Regions from separate parts of the Homo sapiens genome. Here region 2 is linked to region 1. The links are contacts of gene promoters, found by promoter capture Hi-C in blood cells and fetal thymus (Javierre and others, 2016). All regions are on one chromosome and are shown on one strand. The core of a region is centred on a gene start or on the middle of the fragment in contact, and the rest is flanking DNA. Distances in the headings are between cores, read along the strand shown. Region 1 holds the start of MCM2 (minichromosome maintenance complex component 2). Region 2 has its middle 23 kb from the start of TXNRD3.

Evidence for each region. The method cuts DNA at HindIII sites, captures the fragments that hold promoters and counts their contacts. A CHiCAGO score of 5 or more calls a contact.
Region 2: a fragment that was not itself captured here is called in contact with the fragment with the promoter of MCM2 in region 1 in 1 of 17 cell types (total CD4 T cells); the score reaches 5.2 in total CD4 T cells.

Annotation. Positions count from the first base shown.
Region 1 is chr3:127,594,834-127,599,660 of GRCh38, forward strand. It overlaps MCM2 (minichromosome maintenance complex component 2), which reads left to right and starts at 3,578. Exons shown (of 16, transcript NM_004526.4): 1 at 3,578-3,639; 2 at 4,485-4,714. The coding sequence starts at 3,634. It also overlaps a transcript of TPRA1 not described here. RefSeq lists enhancers at 3,256-4,213, 3,567-3,686 and a silencer at 3,717-3,876. The HindIII fragment of the contact is 9,465 bases long and covers 1,066-4,827 here.
Region 2 is chr3:126,675,250-126,680,076 of GRCh38, forward strand. No RefSeq gene overlaps it. Among named protein-coding and RNA genes, the nearest start is that of TXNRD3, 23 kb to the left of the region's middle. RefSeq lists enhancers at 3,626-4,232, 3,748-3,847. The HindIII fragment of the contact is 2,343 bases long and covers 1,315-3,657 here.

The DNA.
Region 1 (4,827 bases), core at 2,328-4,827:
ATGAAAGCCACAGGCTACAGATGGTGGAACCAGAATGGGGAGGAGACTTGTCCTCGGCGATGTCCTGAAGCAGCTGCCCCAGCGCTGGATGCCTACTGACCTGGGAAGAGCAAACCCCAAGGTGATGTGTCCTGGAGCAAGTCCAGCATGACTGTTGGCTGGGGTCCCAGCTCCTCACTCCCCAAGCCTGTCCCAGGCTGCCTGAGTGTCCTCAAGACATGGATGCTGCCTTCTCTCAGAGTGAGCAAAGCTGCAGTCTTTTTGTAACTGAATCTCCAAAGTAACATCCAACCACATCTGTCCTATGCTGTTGGGAGGAGATCACACAAGGGTGTGAATACCAGAAGGCAAGGGCCATCAGGGCCATAATAGAGGCTGCCTACTCACCCCACCCACCTTTCTGTCTCTCCTACCCTGCCCCCAACCAGTGTTTAAACATGTCCAAGAACCTCTCATCTGAGAAAAAGCCATATCCCACTCCAGTGCCTGTCCCAGCTCTCACAGTCCATTCCACACCTGGGAATGCCTCTCTGACCCATACATCTTTGGGTGACATAAAAGCACTCCAGCCTCCAACTAGTAACTCACATTCACCCTTCTCACTTCCCTGCATCCTACCTGTCAACACACTTCAATGTAGTGTCTGACTCCAGACACACCGGCCAGCCCAGATCTGCTATCGCCAGGGCCACTAACAGCTCCTAGTCCTTATCAGATGACCTCTGGGCAGCCAGCTGACCCCATCCACCATCTTGACTGCTCTCTTCAGTGGCCTTTGGGAGGGCTCCTGATAATCCCCAGCCCTGCTAGGATCTCCTCTCCTTCAGTGTGGGCCGGACCTCAGGACTCACTTCTCGCTAAGAGAATATGGCAAAAGTAAAGGAATATCACTTCCAAGACATGGCATCTGTCTTGTATGGCCTCTCTCTCTTGTTCGCTTGCTCTGAAAGAAACCAGCTGCCAGGTTGTAAGCTGCTCTGTAGAGAGGCCCCCACCCAAGAGCCAGTGGGAAACTAAGTCTTCAGTCCAACAGCCTATGAGGACCTGAATCCTATCATGTGAAGAAGCTTGGAAGGGGATCCTCCTGAAGATGAGCCTTCAGAGGAGACAGCAGCCCTGGCCAATACCTTGCCTGCAGCCTTGAAAGACCTTGAAGAAGAGGCACCCAGTGGCATCGTGTCCAGATCCCTGATCCACAGACACCGAGACAGTGGGTGCTAATTGCTTCAAGGTGCTAAATCCCAGGATAATTTTTTTTTTTTTGAGATAGAGTTTCGCTCTTTTTGCCCAGGCTGGAGTGCAATGGCACAATTTCGGCTCACCGCAACCTCCACCTCCAGTGTTCAAGTGATTCTCCTGCCTCAGCCTCCTGAGTAGTTGGGATTACAGGCATGCGCCACTACGCCTGGCTAATTTTGGATTTTTAATAGAGACAGGGTTTCTCCATGTTGGTCAGGCTGGTCTTGAACTCCTGACCTCAGGTGATCCACCTGCCTCAGCCTCCCAAAGTGCTGGGATTACAGGTGTGAGCCACCATGCCTGGCCATCCCAGGATAATTTTTTATGCAGCAATAGATAACACAAGCCCATGCAGAGTCTCTTCAGCTTTCCTGTCAGCAGCTCCTAGCATCCGAGGTGCATCCTTCACATCCTTTGTTGGTGTCTCTTAACTGTTGGGGTTTCCCAGGTCCCAGGCTTAGACCTTCTCATCTCCCTGCACTCACTCTGGATTATACAACCACTCCCAAGGCAATCTACAGCTTCAGTCCAAACACGCCCTTGAGTCCCATACATGGATATCCAACAGCTTCCTGGATATGTCCCCTCGGCCCAAATTCAGCACAGCCAGAAACAAACTCATCTTCTTCCCCCTTAAATTGCTGGTCTTCCTGTGCGCTCCTATCTCAGCTATCATCCACCTAGCTAAGCCAGGATCCTGGTGTCATCCTGCATGCCTCTTTTGCTGTCCTCAATCACCAACACCTATAGACCCCACTTCCTGGCCGGGCGTGGTGGCTCACGCCTGTAATCCTAGCACTATGGGAGGCCAAGGCAGGCGGATCCACTTGTCAGGAGTTGGAGACCAGCCTAGCTAACAATGGTGAAATCCCATCTCTACTAAAAATACAAAAATTAACCGGGCACAATGGCGTGCATCTCTAATCCCAGCTACTCGGGAGGCTAAGGCACGAGAATCGCTTGAACTTGGGAGGTGGAGGTTGCAGTGAGCTGAGGTTGCACCACTGCACTCCAGCCTGGGTGACAGAGTGACTCTGTCTCAAAAAAAAAAAAAAGATTCCACCTCCTAAACATCTTGTATTTCCAGTTCTCTCCATCACTCCTGCCTCCCTACCCTGGGTCCCAGGCAGAGATGCTTGTTCACTGCACAAAGTGCCTGGCTAAGAGGGTTGCGATTCAGCCCTGCCTCTGCTCACTAAGGCTGCCTGGAACTAGACAAGAACCACAGCAACCTCCTCGTTTGCTGCCTTCAACCTCGTTCAATCCACTTCCACCTGGTAGCAGCCAGAGGGATTCTAAAACCCACACTAGTTCACGTCTCACCCTGCTCAAAATGCTTCCATGGCCTTCCATTGCTTTCAGAATACAGAATAGTCAAACTCTCTAGAAAAACATCTAGCTCTTTTTTGATCCGGATTTTCTCTCCCTCAAGTCTTGTCTGTTGCCCGGCATCATAAGCTCCTAGGGTTAGTTCTTAGGGAGGGGCTTGCACATCCGGGCCCTGCCATGACCTCTGCAGCTTTGCACATGGCATCCTTCTATCTGTAACATCCTCCCTGCGTCTTCGCTCCCCTGGGCAAAGATAACTCCTACTAAAGCCTCAGATGTGACCTCCTACAAAATCCCAGAGTTGTCCAGCTGCTTGAAGTATTGAGCCTTTGAGCTTTGGGAGAAGTTAAACCATTGTGCTCCTAAGACGGTAAGAAGCGTCAGAAAACCAGGCTCTGAACCTCTGCTGTCTTTTTTTTTTTTTGAGACGGAGTCTCACTCTGTCACCCAGGCTGGAGTGCAGTGGCGGGATCTCGGCTCACCGCAACCTCCACCTCCCAGGTTCAAGCGATTCTTCTGCCTCAGCCTCCCGAGTAGCTGGGATTACAGGCCCGTGCCACCATGCCCAACTAATTTTTGTATTTTTAGTAAAGACTGGGTTTCACCATGTTAGTCAGGCTGGTCTCGAACTCCTGAGCTTGTGATCCGCCCACCTCGGCTTCCCAAAGTGCTGGGATTACAGGCGTGAGCCACCGCGCCCGGCCTCTGTTGTCTTGTCAGCAAAATGGCCCTGGTGTGACCGAGGTCACGCAGCCAGCAAGTGTCGTCGGGTCCCCTGGAGCCTCAGCTTCTACCTCCGCTCCAGCTCCCACCACAGCGCAGGCGAGCGCACGCGCACAGCGCCGGGCCGCACACCTCCGGGCTCTGGGCGGAGCGCCTCGGGCGTTGTAGGCGGGACCGGACCCTCTGGCCCGCCCCTCCGTGTCCCTTCTGGTCGCCAGTGGACGCCGACGTCATGACGTCGCGTTCCGTAGGGCTCTTCCCGGGCTTTGGTGGGTCACGTGAACCACTTTTCGCGCGAAACCTGGTTGTTGCTGTAGTGGCGGAGAGGATCGTGGTACTGCTATGGCGGTGAGCGCGCTGGCGCGTGGCGGGCGGGCGCCGGGGACATGGGTGCGGAGGCTGCGCGCTTCCCGTACTCTGGCCCCGGCCCAGGGCGGCGCTCTGGGTGAGGCTGGGCCCCAGGCTCTGGGGCGCAGCTACTTTCTCGCCTGCACCCTGCGTGAGGCGACTCGCCTACCTACCACTGACCTGGGGCCCTGGGCTCCCTAAGGCGAGCTCGGCCCGTTCAGCCTCTGTCCTTTATTCACCCCACACATACTTATTGGGCGCCATCTGTGTGGCGCTGAGCGTACAAAAGACAGGCCCCCATTTCACTACACTCCTTTAAACTTTTTTTTTTTTTAATTTCCCAATGATCCTTGTTCCAAACACTACACTTACTTTTGTATTACCTTCTTGTCCCTTTGTCTTGTATACTGTCTGTTCCACATCTGAGTTCCAGACCTCTTGTTTTGGTGGCTCTTCTATGCCATCTCTATCACAATACCTTGCGCACTGTGTGTGCTGAAATAGGTCTAATGCTTAAGGGGAGATAATAGACAGTAAACAGGTAAATAGGCAAATGACATAACCTCAGTGGTTTTTCATGGAGAAAGCACGGTGATGTGGGTGACCCCGATATTTGAGCTGGCTTCTATTTGTTTGGAAGCCACTGACTCAGATTGCTCAGCTGAGAGCATTCCAGGTGAGAGAACAGCAAGGGCAAAGATCTGGAGGCTGGAAGGGGTTTGGTGTGTTGGAGGACAAGAGTCACAGGTGGAGAGAAAGAAGGGAAGGCCCCTGATGGTAAAAAGGAAGCTGTATCATGCCTCACCAGCTTCCTAGGTTTCTGACAACCGCACCTTCTCTTGCAGGAATCATCGGAATCCTTCACCATGGCATCCAGCCCGGCCCAGCGTCGGCGAGGCAATGATCCTCTCACCTCCAGCCCTGGCCGAAGCTCCCGGCGTACTGATGCCCTCACCTCCAGCCCTGGCCGTGACCTTCCACCATTTGAGGATGAGTCCGAGGGGCTCCTAGGCACAGAGGGGCCCCTGGAGGAAGAAGAGGATGGAGAGGAGCTCATTGGAGATGGCATGGAAAGGTAATTTCATTCAAGGCCCTGGACTCAGCAGATAGTTTTGCAGAGAGCCCATTGTGTGCCTGGTGGCCTGGCTTTGGGAGCTGGGAGCAGATGAATCGATGGCATTCTTGCCT
Region 2 (4,827 bases), core at 1,236-3,735, 920 kb before region 1:
ATGTCATTCAGCCACTGGATCAGACTCACCTGACAGCTGCTCTATCTTTGGACTTTTGTGGTCCATTGAATTCCCTTAATTATGTAAGCCAGCTTGAGTTGCATTTTTCTGTTACTTGCAACCAAAGCATCTTAACAAATAAATATATTTCAAGGTTCTAATATTAGGTGAAGAAAAATTCATGACTCACAATGTCTTAATGAATTATATTTTTTCATAAAATATTATTCTTTGTCCTAGTTAATTAACACTTTAGTCCTTAAATTTTATTTTTTTCTAAATACTACCATGGCCAAATCTACTTTCTTTTGTTGGTATTTGCATACCTATCTTTTTCTATGCTTCTCAATGTAAATTTGTCTTTTTCTTCTATATATATCTCTTAGGATAGGATATGGCCTAGTTAGTCACCTTTTATGTCTTAGAAGTTCTTGATTAATTGAAGACAGGTACAAGAAATCAGATGATAAAGCCAAGAACATATTGCAACAGAAGCAGATTCATGGTTGCCTTGGGCTGGCGGTGTTGGAGGGGTGAGAAAATAGGGAGGGGGAGAATGGGAAGTGATGGCAAGGGGTTATAGAGTTCATCATTTTGAGTAATATAAATGTTCTAAAATTGATTGTGGTGATTGATGCACCTTTCTGCGAATATGCTAAAAGCCATTGAGTTGTACACTTTCAATGGGTGAATTGTATGGTATGTGAATTGTATCTTGAAGCTGTGAAAAAAGAAGATATTGAATACATAAAACAAGAATAGGATGCTATGGAGAAGAAGCAATTACAAAGCCAGAAAATAACTCTTGTAAATTTGAAGTATTATTGTCAAAATGTGTGTGTGTATATGTGTGTGTGTGTGTGTGTGTGTGTGTATGTATATACATATTTAAGCATCTTATGTTGCATTTTTCTGTTACTTGTAATATTATAGTAATATTTGAAAAAAATACATATACACATTTATTTGTATACACACATGTGCATATATATCTATCTCTATATGTATAATAAAATTTCCCACAGTATGGGACAATTAGGTAAAAAGGTTTTAAAAAATGAGAGAAAATATAAGAAACCAAGAAAATCAATCCATGAGGTTGAAATGCCTAATAGACTCAAAAATAGAGGACAGAGAGAAAGGGGCATAAATAGTAAAATAATAATATAATAATAGAAGACAATTTCCCAGAACTGAAGCACCTGGGTCTTCAGTTTGAAGGGAACTCAAATGCCCAGCATAATGAATAAAAAAAGGCCCATGGGACATCAGCACAAAATTCCAGAATATCAAGAATAGTGGAAATATCCTACAAGCTTCCAAAATAGGTGGATGCAGGGAAGGGACATTTTGGCATCAGCTGCCTCATCAGGTACTCAGGCTGCCAGAAGAAAGTGAGGACTGTCTCCAAATTTCTGGGGGAAAGGAATTTTGAACCTATACATCTAGGACAAGCCAATGTTTAAAGGCAAATAGATCTTTTCAGATCTGAAAGGACTCAAGGTTGACCTTGCACACATTTTGAGAAATTATTTGGGGTTTCTCTCCACCAAAAAGGGGATGCACCTTGAGGAAGGGCTCCAAGAAGAAAGTGAGTCCATCCCAGAAGGATAAGGAGTAGCAGTCCTTGGGTGACAGCCAAATAGCAGTTAGAGAGTGACTGATCCAAAGAGAAGGAGCGAATTGTCCAGGAACAAACCAGAGACTATAGAGCAGCCTCTCCTCCTTGGTGGGGGGAGTTTGCCCAGCAGAGCCTATCCTCAGCTTATTTCCAGGGTCTGCAAGGGTGACTTTCCAGCAGGCTGCCTTCCCAACACCCAGCCCCCAAGGGCAGATGGTGGAGAAATAACCCACAGACATGTAACTACCCAGATGGATGACCTTGATCAGGTCCAGGAACAGAAGAATGAAGGAAGAAGCAGAAGAAAGGAGGTGAGCAGGGGTACCAGTTAGCTGTTGCTGTGTGACAAAACACCCCAAGGCTCAGTAGGTTCAAATAACAACCGTGTAGTACTGCTCATGAGTCTGTGGGCTGGCAGGATGCTTCTGATCATCTGAGCCGGACTCAGCAGGGCTCACTTGGGTATCAGCTACACATCAGCATCTGGGATGGCTCCGCTGCTGCTGAGTGGTATCTTTCTGAGTGGCTAGCAGGCTAGCCCAGAGATCTGAAAGGAAGAGGAAGCATGCAATGGCTGTTACAGCCTAGCCTCAGAACCTGAATCCCCTTACTTCTGCCACATTCTGTGCACCAAAGTGAGTCACAGGCCAGCTCAGATCCAAGGGCTGAGAAATGCACTCTGCATCTTCTCAGGAGTTACTGCACAGTCACCGGGCTGAGGACACATATGCAAGGAGGGCTGCAAAACCATGGCCACTGTTGTAAACAACCTACCATGGGGACGGAAAATAAGGATTTTTTAAAGGTAGCAAAAAGTTACTTCTCTTACCACGTGGGATCTCTTTTCTTTTCTTTCCTTTATTTTTGTTCAAGACAGAGTCTCACTCTGTTGTCCAGCCTGGAGTGCAGTGATGCAATCACAGCTCGTTGGTGCCTCAAACTCCTGGGCTCAAGCAATCTTCCCACCTCAGCCTTCCAAGTAGCTAGAACTACAGGTACATGCTACTGCAACTGTCTGATTCTTTTTTTGTAGAGACAGGGTCTCACTATGTTGCCTAGACTGGTCTAGAACCCCTGGCCTTAAGCCATCCTTCTGTCTCAGCCTCCCAAAGCACTAGGATTATAAGCATGAGCCACTGCACCCAGCCAGATCTTTTTTTCCTCTGTGACCCGGGCAGAAATGGACCATTTTCCAGATGAGAAATCTAGACCTTCTGTGTGGTGCAGACATTGCCGTGTTCATTTCCCTATATTCCACATATAACGAAGTCTCTGGGTGGTCCCAGGCTGGAATCCAGTACATCGCTGGAGCAGAGCATTGGACGGGAAACTCTCCCACTGTGGCACGTGGTGGCAGCCGAGGTCTCCAACTGAGGCTGTCAAGGGAAGGAAGAGCTAGCTCCCCACCCGCGCCCGCTTCTTTGCTGAAGTTGATCTTTCCAGAAACCAAGCATGGAGGTTCTGAGGGTAATGGAAGTGCCTGCTCAGGCGGAAACTTAGAATTATGCCAGCTGCTCCCTTGGCTGCAAATGGAGACCTTAAGTCACCTTGGAACAGACTCGCCTTATTATCTCTGGAATCTCCTTAAATTGTATAAATGCAAGGCAGGCCGTCACTGCTTTTTTTGAGAAAGGGTGCAGATTGACCCTCGCTTTCTCTGACTTGGAAATGTCTGCCCTTCCAAAGAATCCTTAATACACAACGTCAGGGAGAAGGGGGTGGCAAATTCACCCAACGGCCAAGAGCCTGCCAGAAAAAAGGGATTTGGGACTCTGTTCCCTTCTTTTATTGGAGCCAGAGGCTCTCAGAGAGGCCCCCGGCGGGAAGGGTGGCCAGGCCCCAGAGTGTACCTCTCTGCAAGAGAAGGACAGAGTCTGGCTGGGGGTGGCCTGAGCAGCCGTGCAGCCTCGGGTTCTTAAACAGGGTGTGGCAGAGGCTCAGGCCCTGTGAGCAGCCAGGCATTCAAAGAGCTGTCGGCTTAGAGCCTCCCGGAAACACCTGCCTCTGGGGTTCTTGAACAACTTGCGCGGCCGGGAAGCTTGTACGCCCAAGATGCAGGATGCCTGTTAATCGGAGCAAGCGGGAGGACGAAAGGAAACCATGTGGCAGGAGATGGGCCCCTCTGTGTGCGCAGCTGGACTCGGCCCTTTGCTCGGATCCTAGCACTCATGACAGCTGGCCTCACGAAGAGGTCCTCTGGTTGGCCTCTGCCTCTCCGATTCCCGCACCCCTTAGAGCTAAGGCCTCTGGCACTCCTCTCTACGACCCCACGGTCCTTTCTCTGCACCACCCCACGGTCCTTTCTCTGCACCGCCCCCACCCCATCCCTGGGCACAGGGCCTGGCATCAGTAGAGGATTCTTGCGCGAATTCGGTGCACGCCGAAACATTCTACAGAACCCATTTCCACTTTCAGCTGCGTGGGCCCGGCAGGAACGCGCTCTTCCTCGCGGGCCAGGCAGGCAGCCCCTTGGGCTGGACGCAGGTACCTCCCCACAGGGCTTCTCAGAGCGCCAGATCGCAGCATGCACTTCTGAAGGCGGCCGCGAGGTGGCACTGCGGCTTCTTGGGAAACAGACAATGCGAGGTCTCCTTTCAGAGGATCTGGCCTGGGCTGCCCACTGACCCGCGCAGGCGACGGGGACGGGGCACGTGCCTCCCAGGCACTGTCAGTCGGCCACCCACAGGGACCCAGCACCTCCAGGGCCGGCCAGTCCTGCCCAGAGTGGTTCCCAGGGGAGCTGTGTTCCAGCTCGGTGCCTCCACCTCCAGGTCTTGATTTCCTCTTAAAATAAGGAGGATGACACAGATTACAAGGCAATGAATAAGAACACACTCTATGAACTATAAAGCCGGGCAGAAATGCCTGCTGTGGATGCAGGGATGAAGAGGGACAGGAGAACCCAACGCTGCTCTTAAGGAATGTCCTGGGGGCACGACTAAAACTCACCATGGGCCGAAGGCAGGGTGAGGCTTCGGAAGTGTGAGAGGCTCCGAAGGCATCCTCCTAAAAGGGAACCATAGAAACTAACAAAGCTAAGCGCTTTGCAGCTGGAACTCATTGAAGCCTCACATCTGCCTCTGATTCTCTGTAGATTCTCTACCTTAATTATCCCTATTTTACAGAAACTAAGGCCCAGGGAAGCTGTGACCTGGGGGAGCCCTCATGTTAGTGAGTGGGCAGGAGGGATGCAGAACTGGAAGTGG